Regions from separate parts of the Homo sapiens genome. Here region 1 is linked to region 2. The links are contacts of gene promoters, found by promoter capture Hi-C in human tissues and cell types (Jung and others, 2019). All regions are on one chromosome and are shown on one strand. The core of a region is centred on a gene start or on the middle of the fragment in contact, and the rest is flanking DNA. Distances in the headings are between cores, read along the strand shown.

Region 1 (3,621 bases), core at 749-3,248, 47 kb before region 2:
TTCCTACAGGCTAGGGGTTGAGGCCCTGGTCAATCAGAGACCCCGGGGACGCCCTACTCACTGTCGGGACCTCGGTGCTGTGATACTTTTTCACTTGATGCTTGAGTGGTGGGCAAGGAAGCTGTCTCTGGGAGCGTCAGAAAGTTGAAGACTGAGTACTTGTCACGCTTCACTCTTGGTAAGCCAACTAAAGTTGAACTGGGAATTGAAAAAAGAATCATTTTAGTAACAACCAGTAGGACAAAATCCACCTCCTGAAAAGCTTTCCATCTCAAGTTTTCCACCTCTTCTGCATGACTAAAAAGTCTCCTAAGATGCTTTCACTTCTCAAAGCAGTTCGAGAATCTGGGTGACTGATTTTAGGTCCCATGAGATTTTCCTTATTATGATAAGGACAAGAATTTAACTTTCAAAATGGATTTCCATTAAGGAAAAGCTCCACTGATAAAAATATACCTAAAGTTTCTGACAGTCTCTGGTTTGACCACATATGCTATCTTTTTGTTTTGTTTTTTTTTCTCTTGAGATTGAGTCTCGCCTTGTCACCCAGGCTAGAGTGCAATGGCACAATCTTGGCTCACTGCAACCTCCGCCTCCCAGGTTCAAGCAATTCTCCTGCATCAGCCTCCCAAATAGCTGGGACTATAGGCACGCACCACCACGCCCAGCTAATTTTTTGTATTTTTAGTAGAGACGGGGTTTCACCATGTTGGTCAGGCTGGTCTTGAACTCCTGACCTCAAGTGATCTGCCTGCCTCAGTCTCCCAAAATACAGGGATTACAGGCGTGAGCCATTGCACCCGGCCTACTATCTTGAAGTGTTCTGTTTGTTTGTTTGTTTGTTTGATTTTTTAGAGATGGGGTCTTACTATGTTACCCGGGCTGGCCTCGAACTCCTGGGCTCAAGCGATCCTCCTGCCTTGGCCTCCCAAGCTAGGATTACAAGTGTGCACCACCACACCCCACCTCTTGAAGTGTTATTAATCAAATAAGAAAGTGTTTAACTTTTATAATGATAATTTAAAAACATAAGTAACATTATAAATGTAAACCACATGAGCAGCAACAAGAAGGTGGCAAATGAGAGAGGCATAATGCTTTTGTAACTTGACATATCTGAGTTTCATAGCTTCAATATGGAATAAAGTTTGCTATCCAGATTTTGTTTTAGTAACAAATTATAGAAGTAATTTATCAAAGCAAATCTATAAAATGTGTAGATTTGTATATCCAGTGATATGCAAATAAGTTCATGTAGAAAAAATAAGAATTTATATGAGTATGTAAGGGGAAAATTAGCTTTAATATCAAGAATACATTTTGTACTGATGTAAAGGTTTATCCAACTTACTCTGGATAAGGGTCAGGGACATTAAATCTCTTACATAGAAGCTTGTCAGGGTGCCACTCAAACGTGTCTCGGGTGAGCTTCCCAAACATCTTCATCTTCACAGCCGACTGCTTATCCCCGACATCATTCTGGAAAAAGACATGCATTCTGTTCCATCAAGTGGCCGCACCACTGACCTGACTGCTCTCCCATTTAAAATTTTCAAGCAATCTTCTAGAACTGTGAAAAAAGTTTGTGCTATAACATTTATGCTCCAGTACATTGGAAACTAAGGCATAAAATGGTTTCCTATTCTCCTATACATGTATATTTTGATCTTCTCACCAAGGGATTAAAAATATTTGGCTCGGCCGGGCATGGTGGCTCATGCCTGTAATCCTAGTACTTTGAGAGGCCGAGGCGGGTGGATCACCTGAGGTCAGGAGTTCAAGACCAGCCTGGCCAATATGGTGAAACCCCATCTCTACTAAAAATACAAAAATTAGATGGCTGTTGTGGCGAGCGCCTGTAATCCCAGCTACTTGGAAGGCTGAGGCAGGAGAATCGCTTGAACCCAGGAAGCGGAGGCTGCAGTGAGCCGAGATCACACCACTGCACTCTAGCCTGGGCGACAGAGAGAGACTCCGTCTCAAAAAAAAGGAAAAAACTATTTTGGCTAGGCAGTGCTTTAATATTAAAGTTCACCAGGTAAGGGACATGGTGACAACAGACCTCTTGGTCTCGAGGGACTTCAACCTGATCTGAGTCATCCTCCTCCTTGGCGTGAGTGAACCTGGAGGACAAGGTCGAATGGGAAGATGCGTACAGCAGGGCCGCCCGGGCAAACTCATCCCGCTCACGGCCTCGCTCCCACTCTGTCATGCTGGGGTCCAGACAGCGTTCCAGAGCATCTGCGGGGGCAGAGAACAAGAAGCAGCTTCACTTTTCAGGAAAACATGGGGCTTACAAGAGAACATCTGCTGGGCACCACTGTATCCCTGTATATTTCATAAGTCCTTATCCTTGTTTTTATGACTATGGGAATGGTGAGGTATTTGGCAGGTAATATTGCTGTTTCCTTCAAAATTGTGCTTTTTTAAAAAAAATTTAGGCCAGGCGCAGTTGTTCATGCCTGTAATCCCAGCACTTTGGGAGGCCGAGGCGGGTGGGTCACTTGAGGTCAGGAGTTCGGGACCAGCCTGGCAAACATGGTGAAACCCCATCTCTCTTTTTTTTTTTTTTTTTTTTTCTGAGATGGAGTCTCACTCTGTCTCCCAGGCTGGAGTGCAGTGGCATGATCTCTGCTTACTGCAAGCTCCGCCTCCCACGTTCACACCATTCTCCTGCCTCAGTCTCCCGAGTAGCTGGGACTACAGGCGTCCGCCACCATGCCCGGCTAATTTTTTGTATTTTTAGTAGAGACGGGAAACAAAAAATTACCAGGCGTGGTGGCACATACCTATAGTCCCAGCTGCTCAGAAGGCTGAGGCAGGATAATCACTTGAACCTGGGAGGTGGAGGTTGCAGTGAGCTGAGATTGCAGTGAGCCAAGATCCTGACACTGCACTCCAGCCTGGGCAACAGAGCAAGACTCCGTTCAAAAAAATAAATAAAATATGATGTGTGTATATATATATATAATATATTTTATATATACATATATATCTTTTTTTTTTTGGTAGAGGCAGGATCTCACTATGTTGCCCAGGCTGGTCTTGAACTCCTAGGCTAAAGCGATCCTCATCTCAGCCTCCCAAAGTACTTGGATTACAGGCATGAGCCACCATCCCCAGCCAAAATGATGCTTTTATTGAATTCTGTCTACCAAACATAACAGAGAAAACCATTTGAGAGGCTAATGGTTGGTTAAATCTTCAGCAGTAAGGAACTTGTCACCACTCCCAGGCAGTGATAAGTTCACCTCAACCACATCCCTATGTTTTGGCAGAAAAACACTCTTTCACTAACCGTTTTTTTTTTTTAAAGCAAATAAACATTAGTGATGTAGGTTCTTAGTAGAGAGTTAAGGCACAGTAAATAGACTTTACATTCCGCAAAGATCTGTTTTTAAAAAACAACCCTGTAATTTACTGATAACCTCTCACGAGGACTACTGCATACAACAGCAACCCCTTTCCTCATTCTTGCCTCATTCTTGCCCTATTTACTTCACAGATCACAAAGTGATTGTTTTCCCTCTGTAACGGTTCAATAGCTAACTATTGTTTTAAGTCATATTTTAGACTATGAGTCAGGAATGGATGGTTAGGATCTTCGGATGAGGTGGAAGA
Region 2 (3,685 bases), core at 6-2,505:
CGAGACGAGTGAGGATCACTTAAGGTCGGGAGTTCGAGGCCAGCCTTGATATCATGGTGAGACCCCGCATCTATTTAAAAACAAAACAAAACAAAACAAAACAAAAGCTGTAATCCCAGCACTTTGGGAGGCAGGCCGAGGTGGGCAGATCACAAGGTCAGGAGTTCAAGACAAGCCTAGCCAACAAGGTGAAACTGTCTCTACTGAAGATTAGCTGGGTGTGGTGGTGGACGCCTGTAGTCTCAGCTACTCGGGAGGCTGAGGCAGGAGAATCGCTTGAACCCGGGAGGCGGAAGTTGCAGTGAGCCGAGATCGCGCCATTGCACTCCAGCCTGGGCGACAGGGCGAGACTCCGTCTCAAATAAAAAAATAAAAAAAATAAATAAAAAGGCCGGGCGCGTTGGCCCGCGCCTGCAGCCCCTGCTACTTGGGAGGCTGAGGCTGGAGCATCGCTTGATCCTGGGAGGTCGAGGCTGCAAAGAGTCGAGATCGCAACACTGCTCTCCAGCCTGGGCGACAGAGCGAGGTCCCATCTCTTAAAAAAAAGAACTGTGCTCAAGGACATCTGCCGTGTCTGGGGCGCAAAACCCCTCCTGGTCCCCTCTCTCAGGGCAGTCCGCGAGCCCAGCGGATCCCACTCGTCTTTGCAGCGCGGACAGGGAATCGGCTGAGTTGATCCCATGCCAACAAGCCCGAGTAGTCCGGGCAAGGCGCTCGGCGGGGCAGTCAACGCTCCCTCCGCCATGGGCTCCCCTCTTGGGAAAAGCTTTTCCAAACCGCCGGGCCCAGGGCCCAGAGCTCCCGCCGCGCCCTCGACGTGGCGTCGAGTCTGGCCCCTTCCCCCGCGGCGCACGGGCTTCACCCAGGAGGGACGCGCCTGGATCCACGCCTTCCTCACTGACTCCCCGGGCTCCAGGGCAGGGTGCAGGTCCACAGCCAGGGCTTCGCTGCGGCCCCTGAGACCCCAGTGCCTTTCCTGCGCTCTCGCGGCACTCGCAAAGTTGAGTCAGCCACGACGCCCACAGACAACCCCGAGGCGCCGCGCCCAGGGCGCAGCTCTCCGGGTGACGAGCGCCTCAAGGGGCGCGGGTTCGGGGCCCGCGACGGGGCGGGGCGCGTCTCCAGGGCTCCAGTGCTCGGCCTCAGGCGGGGCTAGAAGGGCCGCGGGACGGGGTGGGAGTGGAGGGGCGGGGAAGGGCGGGGACAGGGGCGGGGCCGCACGTCCTCTCGGGCCAGCCTCAGCCGCCGCGCCTCAGTCCGCCGTCCGCCCTCCGCGCCCGCGCCGCTAGCATGACCGACGCGCTGTTGCCCGCGGCCCCCCAGCCGCTGGAGAAGGAGAACGACGGCTACTTTCGGAAGGTGGGCGGCTTCGGGCGGGCGGGCGGGGACCTGCGGGCTCCAGACCTCCTTTCCCCCGGGCCCTGCAGGGGCCGTGGGAGCGCGCAGTCGGGGTCCACTAGGCCGGGAGGGGGAGGGGGCGCACTGGGCCGGCGCTGGCCGGACGGAGGCTGGCGGGGAGGAGTGGGGGCGGCGATGTCCCCGGCGTCCCGGGCAGGTGGCATCCGGGACTGGGCGGGGAGTAGGGGAGGCGCATGTGGCCGCTCCGCGCAGGTGCGGGCGGAGGACCTGGAGGGGTGCTTGGGTCTCCCCCCTCCCACCCCCCGCCACCCCTCGCTTGCGATCCCTGGTGCCTGGGGAAAGGACCCGTTCCTGGCTGCGCTGGCGCCCTTGGCCTCTGGGCGCGTTGCAAGAGCGCTTGGTGGGAGCGCGGGTGGAGACAGACCATCCCAGGCGTGTTGGCGGTCTCATATTTATTTTAGGCGCTCTGTCGCCCAGGCTGGAGTAGAGTGGCGCGATTATAGCTCACTGCAGCCTCGACTTCCTGGCCTCCAGCGATCCTCCCGCCCCAGCCTCCCGAGTAACTGGGACTGCAGGCGCGCCACCTCGCCACGCTAATTTTTTGTAGAACTGGGGTATCGCTGTGTTGCCCAGACTGGTCGCGAACTCTTGGGCTCAAGGGATCCTCCCGCCCCGGTCTCTCAAAGTGCTGGGATTACAGGCGTGAGCCACTGCGCCCGGCCGGCGGTCTCTTTTTGCCTCCAAAATGCTTCCAAAGTCCGCCTGTGGGACTTTTCAGGGAGCAGGGGAGAGCTGCTGGTGGGAGGGAGCCTCCGGCGTTGCACCCTCCTCCGCTCCGGGTCGTCCAGGAGGGCGTGAGCACCGCAGGTGAGGCCCACGGTCTTGTGCGTCTCACTGTGTGCCAAAGCGGATTTGTCTTGTTGTCCGGGAGACTTGGCGGGGGCTGGCGGCGGGCGGCGGGCGGCGGGCGGCGGGTGGCGGGTGCCGGCCTCGCAGGTTCTTGGCATGTCCAGGAGCTCTTGGGCCCAGAAGATAACAGTCAGGGAGCTCAGTCCCTCAAAAGCGACCCCAGCCTGTGGAGCAGGGGCCCTGGGATACCCGCAGGCGGCAGGGCCTGGGCTACAAAGATGCTTTGGAGCCGGGAGTCATGGTGATGCCTTCCAAGCCTTCCTCCCTCTAGGTCCTGAGCAAGTCTAAAAATAGCTTTTGGCCCTTGGCCAGGGATCACTGAGAGGGTGGAGAGATTGTTGTTGATTTTCGTTTTTATAATAGATACGACAGTGCATAATTATAAATAGGGAAGTGAAACTTTCCCATAAACGAATCAATTCTTAATTGTTCAAAGCCTTAGGATCCAGTTCTTAAATGGTCTTGGCATCTTCCTCCTTCTCCCAGGTGACACAGAGAGACTGTGGGCTTTGCTCACTGGTGAGGAGCCCTGGGCAGGACAGTGTGGGGCAGAGTGGGAAAACTTCTTTTTTGTGAAGTTGCTTTTAGCATTAAAAAAAAAAAAAGTAGTTTTGAGGTATATTTAAGTTTAAAGATGTCATCATGGAATTACAGGATTATAACTTCTAATTATGTGTGGCGTTTGGGACAGAGGATCACAGGCCATGGAATTGCAGGAGGAGGCCTGGCCTGGGAATTCCTATGTCTGTCCTCGGGCCCCGGGGCCTGACTGCCACTCCCACAAAATTGCTGTGTGGCCTCCCGCAAGTTGCTGCCTCTTTCTGGGACATTTCCTCCCCAGATTGTTCTCTGAGCAGGTGTAGCTCTGGAACTCCAGCAGCACCTGGGGGAAAATGGCAGCAAGAGAAGCACACCTGTGAGGGGTGGTCCCAAGCCTCCCAGAACACATTTTCCTGTGGGAGCCCTCCGTGTCTGTGAGCCCAGGGGAGGACTTCTTGCTCCGCACTGGGAAAGAGTGGATGGCAAGAGAGCTAGGAAAGGTGCACAGTTGGGTGTTTTTCATTTATTAATTATTATTATTATTATTATTATTATTATTATTATTATGAAACAGAGTCTCACTCTGTCGCTCAGGCTGGAGTGCAGTGGTGTGATTTCGGCTCACTGCAACCTCTGCCTCCGGGGTTCAAGCAGTTCTGCCTCAGCCTCCGAAGTAGCTGGGATTACAGGCGCCTGCCACCACACCTGGCTAATTTTTTGTATTTTTAGTAGAAACGGGGTTTCACCGTGTTGCCCAGGCTAGTCTTGAACTCCTGACCTTAAGTGATCCACCTGCCATGGCCTTCCAAAGTGCTGGGATTACAGGTGTAAGCCACTGCGCCCGGCTACAGGTGTTTTTTTTTTTTTCCCCCTGAGA

What was found. The method cuts DNA at HindIII sites, captures the fragments that hold promoters and counts their contacts. A contact is called where the count stands out against the background at its distance.
Region 1: a fragment that was not itself captured here is called in contact with the fragment with the promoter of RHPN2 in region 2 in 4 of the 25 tissues and cell types used here (H1 embryonic stem cells, pancreas, spleen and 1 more).

The regions. Positions count from the first base shown.
Region 1 is chr19:33,110,344-33,113,964 of GRCh38, reverse strand. GPATCH1 (G-patch domain containing 1) reads right to left here. Exons shown (of 20, transcript NM_018025.3): 12 at 2,063-2,241; 13 at 1,352-1,479; 14 at 62-198. Among named protein-coding and RNA genes, the nearest start is that of WDR88, 20 kb to the left of the region's middle. The HindIII fragment of the contact is 5,908 bases long and covers 1-3,621 here.
Region 2 is chr19:33,062,458-33,066,142 of GRCh38, reverse strand. RHPN2 (rhophilin Rho GTPase binding protein 2) reads left to right here and starts at 1,255. Exons shown (of 15, transcript NM_033103.5): 1 at 1,255-1,359. The coding sequence starts at 1,291. RefSeq lists enhancers at 221-720, 1,933-2,561 and silencers at 868-1,367, 1,428-1,647. The HindIII fragment of the contact is 19,604 bases long and covers 1-3,685 here.